Linked DNA regions of Homo sapiens: region 1 is linked to region 2. The links are contacts of gene promoters, found by promoter capture Hi-C in human tissues and cell types (Jung and others, 2019). All regions are on one chromosome and are shown on one strand. Each heading gives the region's core, a stretch centred on a gene start or on the middle of the fragment in contact. The rest is flanking DNA. Distances are from core to core; before and after follow the strand shown. Region 1 overlaps LINC02511 (long intergenic non-protein coding RNA 2511). Region 2 holds the start of SLC7A11 (solute carrier family 7 member 11).

What was found. The method cuts DNA at HindIII sites, captures the fragments that hold promoters and counts their contacts. A contact is called where the count stands out against the background at its distance.
Region 1: a fragment that was not itself captured here is called in contact with the fragment with the promoter of SLC7A11 in region 2 in 1 of the 25 tissues and cell types used here (dorsolateral prefrontal cortex).

What each region holds. Positions count from the first base shown.
Region 1 is chr4:137,163,732-137,166,431 of GRCh38, reverse strand. The region is part of intron 1 of LINC02511 (long intergenic non-protein coding RNA 2511); the gene reads left to right. Among named protein-coding and RNA genes, the nearest start is that of LINC02510, 29 kb to the left of the region's middle. The HindIII fragment of the contact is 7,172 bases long and covers 1-2,700 here.
Region 2 is chr4:138,240,913-138,243,612 of GRCh38, reverse strand. It overlaps SLC7A11 (solute carrier family 7 member 11), which reads left to right and starts at 1,264. Exons shown (of 12, transcript NM_014331.4): 1 at 1,264-1,820. The coding sequence starts at 1,544. RefSeq lists enhancers at 1,010-1,249, 719-1,918. The HindIII fragment of the contact is 2,388 bases long and covers 586-2,700 here.

The sequences.
Region 1 (2,700 bases), core at 48-2,547, 1.1 Mb after region 2:
AATCAGTGATGCCCCTTCAATCTGGCTTCTGTGTCTTATGTATATCATATCTCAATTATTCTTTGAACACTTCCTTCTTCTCTGAACAAGTCATTCAGGTTTCAAATGGAAAATATTCTCACTTCAGCCTTGGAATCAGCTCTTTCTCCCAAGAATCCTAGCTCCTTTTAATAGAAAATGGTGTTTAGAAATTAAAATATGGGCAGTAGATATTATCATTGCCTTTAGGGTGCTACTGTTTCTATGCTTTTTCAGTGGCAAGAGCTAGGAAATGTTCCTTATACAGCTATAAGTCATGTATATATAGTCAAAGCTATAGTAAAGACTAATATAATAGTGTCTACCGTATAATCTGGCACATTTTCTTTATCTTAGTATTTCTCTTCTCCCTGAATATGCTAGCTTGTGCCCTTTACTTGGCTCATTTTTTCCAAGTATTTTATTCAAAGTTTTTTGTTTGTTTCTTCATTATCTGCACAGCTGTCAGGTTCTTTCTACCCCTGCTCAGCTGGCTGGCATAGCTGGTAGACTTGTATGTTAAAACCCTGATTCCCAATGCAAGTCCTGGAATCTTATTTTACACAAGTACAGAGATCAAGTATATAAAAGAAGAGGTCACACTGACCAAGACCTTCCATCACAAAAGATCTAAATAAGATGAATAAGCTATTTGAAATTCAGGCAAACTAGAACACAGTAGCCTTGGCTAAACTGGTTAGTTGATACTTATTACCAGCAAATTTTGGCTCTAGGAGAATATTTTCCCAATATTGCCAAATCTGCTTCTCACTTTTGAAAAGACTGTTGAAATTAAGTGAAGTCTGCCAGTTTTAAATGTTGTCAACTAATTAGATTTTTGTTGCCTTGTTTAATATTTTACTGTCCAAAGAATACATGTCTGTATGTCACCACTTTAAAACCTTTTACTTAACAAAGCCCAGGGAATATTTTTCATTGAGGGGGGTAAACATCAGAAAAATAGCTGCTGTTTTATTCCTTTGTGCTTATGAACTACTATATACCAAACCTAGAGCCAAGCATCCTCATTTATCTACTTGAGGGACATTCATTCAGTCCTTACTGTGTACAAGGCATAATGCTAGACAGTGCAGTGGGCAGACAGATAAAAATGCTGAATAGATCCCTCTCCTCAAGACATCATAACATTGCAAGGAGAAGGGTAAGTATATATAAATATCCATATATAATCTCCTAAAGCAGAAAGGGAAACATAAAATATATATATATTTTTATATATATAATATATTTATATTTTATATTTATATATAAAATATATTTGTATATAACTATATAAAATATATTTGTATATAACTATATATAAAATATATTATATATAACTATATATAATGTATTATATATAACTATATAAAATATATTTATATATAACTGTATATAAAATATATTTATATATAACTGTATATAAAATATATATAACTGTATATAAAATATATTTTATGTATATTATATAAATATAAAATATAAAAATATTGTATTTATATATATATTTATATATTTATATAAATATATATATTTATATATTTATATAAATATATATATTTATATAAATATATATATTTATATATTTATATAAATATATATATTTATATAAATATAAAAAACTATATAAAAATATATTATATATAAATATATAATATATTTATACATGAAATATAAATATATTATATATATATGAGAGAGAGAGAGAGAAATAGCCCTAAAACTATAAAACATATTGCAGTAATGATACAACAGAGAAATATGAAAATTCAGATTACAGAACATATTTTATGTTGAAGACATTGGGCTGAAAAGCAAAAACAATGTTGTATGAGCATAGTAATGAAGCAGATTTCTTAACAACTTAGTAAAATGGAGATTGGGAGAAAGTGGTTAGTTAGCATATGCAAAAACATTGAGGTAGAGAGGTAGGAAATACAGGCAGGATCTGTAAAGTAAAACTATTTGTAATGGATCTGAAAGTACGTAAATTAGCATGAAGACCACTGATAGTCCAATCTACCTTAACCTGAGAAGTAGGGATCAAAGACAGTTCTAAAAAAAGTGGCAATAAATGTATGAAAAATAGGATAATGAGAGAGATCATTTGGAAGTAAAATAAATTGTCATTTAGATTAAACAGGGGTTGGAAGAAGTAGAGGAGATAGAGATCAATTAAACATAAATTCCAAATGTTGGTTTGAGATGATAAAGAAAATATCCTTAACGTATCCAGAGTGATGAAAAGAAGACACTATTCTGTGAGGGGCAAGATGGTTCATTCATATTTTAACCTCACTTAAAATGTAGGTGTAAATAATTAATTTATTCATCTGTTTTTCAGAAAGTAATTGTGTAACTACTATGTGCAAAGTGCTGGATCTTGGCCATGGGTGATACAAAAGCCAAATAAGAATAGGTCTTGTCTGAGGAAATTACTGTGTCTACATGCTATTAATGGAGCTATGCTGAGGGCACAGTTGAAGCCCTGGAAATTGGTAAGGATATCATAGGAAAAGGGGAGATCTGACTTAAAGGTATTATATGCTAATCCCAAGGTTTTGCCTTTATTCTGAAGGTTTTTCGAAATCACTGAAGTAATTTGTTCTGACAGTGTAATAATCAGATTCATGTTTTCATAAAACATATCTAGCTATGCTACACATTACCTGCTTATGAATA
Region 2 (2,700 bases), core at 15-2,514:
ATCCTCACCATACTTGACTCCCTTCTTTCCCTGCCAACCTCTCGCACACAGGCTTTTTGTTTGTGGTTTTTGTTCAAAGGTTCAGAAGCTTATTTAATGGTGCGTATAAAGGTAGCTTCAGGGTAATGATAACATTCAATTCTTCTCACTGAATCCAAAACCACATGTAACTATAGCCAAAAATGATATCTAGGATTTCTTTTCTTTTCATATTTGTTTTTTCTTGACACTTGGTTGAGAAAGTTAGAAGGGTTTAAAAATGTTTTGCCTTTTTGACTATTGCAAAGTAAATATTTTAATTTAGCTTACATTTTTAATGCATTTTAAATTTATAATAATAACAATAGTTTATATAATGTGGAAAAAAGTCATACATAATATCATTACTTTCTATAACTACCATTCTGTTTTCCTTTACAGGCTTTTGCTATATACATATTTTTATGTAATTGTAATTGTGTAATTTTGAACTTAGAAATTTTTTTTGGTAATTCAAAGGAACAACATGACAATGAAGGATATGTATCTTTTACATAGTTCAAAAAAATCACCTAGTGCTAATGAGAATCAGAAAATGACTATTTTCTGGAGTCATGGTGAATTTTGTATTAGTCACACTCGGATGGTGATTTAAAATACTGGTTTATTATGAGTAGTAAGAAATAATTTTATCTTTTAATGTTGAGGAAGGCTTATAGTTGTGTGTATGTGACAGAAGTATAAAGTGTAGAATCTTTAATTTTGTAAATATTGGATTTGACTGTATTGCCTTATAAAAAACTCAAAATAAAAAAATAAAAAGCATTACACAAATTATGAAATTCAAACTGTGTTGTTATAAACAATGTAGCTTTAGGATACATTCTACTCACAAAACAGTCGCATGTAAAATGTTTTTATACACGCATTAAAGAAAAAGAAACTCCTTAAAATGAAGTAACTATTTCCTGTTTCATTTTGTTTGAACAGCTTTTGTTGCTCACTACGAGTTGCTTTAAATCTCTGGGAAGGTCTGTTCCGAATTTACTACTTCTGGATTGGCTAAAATCTCTTTAAAGTGTGTGCTTTGTTCTCTAAAAAGCTTAGGTCAGTTGAGCAACAAGCTCCTCCTGTTTTTTTCTTTTTTTAAAAAAAAGAGCTGAGTAATGCTGGAGGCTTCTCATGTGGCTGATGCAAACCTGGAGAATTTGCATCATCATTTAGCTGTAGTAAGTTGGTGTGACAGGCAGGCGCTTAAATACAAGCCCATGAGGAAGCTGAGCTGGTTTGTAATGATAGGGCGGCAGCAGCAGCAGCAGCAGCAGTGGTGGAACGAGGAGGTGGAGAATTGAGAGCACGATGCATACACAGGTGTTTCTGAGTAGTAATTAGATCGCTGTGAAGGAAAAAGCACACCTTTGAGTTTTCACCTGTGAACACTATAGCGCTGAGAGAGACAGTCTGAAAGCAGAGGAAGACATCGATCAGTAACACCAAGAGACACCAAAGTTGAAAGTTTTGTTTTCTTTCCCTCTGTTTTATTTTTCCCCCGTGTGTCCCTACTATGGTCAGAAAGCCTGTTGTGTCCACCATCTCCAAAGGAGGTTACCTGCAGGGAAATGTTAACGGGAGGCTGCCTTCCCTGGGCAACAAGGAGCCACCTGGGCAGGAGAAAGTGCAGCTGAAGAGGAAAGTCACTTTACTGAGGGGAGTCTCCATTATCATTGGCACCATCATTGGAGCAGGAATCTTCATCTCTCCTAAGGGCGTGCTCCAGAACACGGGCAGCGTGGGCATGTCTCTGACCATCTGGACGGTGTGTGGGGTCCTGTCACTATTTGGTGAGTGCGACTTTTTCTCTCGTGGGGGCGTGGCTGTGGGGCTGGAAAGCTTGCTTTCTGGGAAAGCAAATGGTAGTTTTTGAGGAGTGAATGGATGGCAAAGGCCACACCAAATTTTTAAAATTTTTGTTCGGGTACGTGAACTACCCAGATGCAGCATCCGCTGTTGGTGTGATCTGGAACACCCTCAAATTGCTTCCTACAGGCTGTACTTTCTTTTCCTGACTAAGACAGGCTATCTTCTGACTTTTCTCTGTGGTGATGAGAGCAAAGGCTAACTTTCATGACCCAGTAAAAAACATGCACACTTTCTGTGCCGGGCAGTTGTACACTTAGCTTGGGCATTCTGGCAGCTGGCATGCTGAATGAGACACCTGTGAAGTGGAACCTGGCATGGGCTATTTAGACATAGAACGGAGTGTTCAGCAGAAGTCTTACTGACTTTTTATTAGCCAAACAAATGGGTGGCAGTCTTTATAAAAATATTTTTTAAGTTCATGTGCTTGTCACCTCTTAATATCCTTTCAAAAGTCCTTGACATGGGAGAGATGTATGATGGCGCATAACTCAATCCCTATCATAATGGGGTATATTGCAATGGCCTGAGCATATTTCAAATTACTTTTCAACCTTTCATCTCTTCTCAATACCCATACACTTTTGCAATATAAGTTTTAAAACTTCAGTTGGGCGTTAGTTTTCTGTACTTGCCCAGATCTGTTTTTTTCATTATATTTCACTTGTTCTCCAGGGACACAGAGAATTTGTCCACCTGTTCACTAAATTAATCTGAAGGGAACTGGCAGAAGTATAATTATGAATTTTTCTTCAAAGTTTATGTCTCTTCTATTGATCTGAGAATTAATAGTAAAGAGGTAAA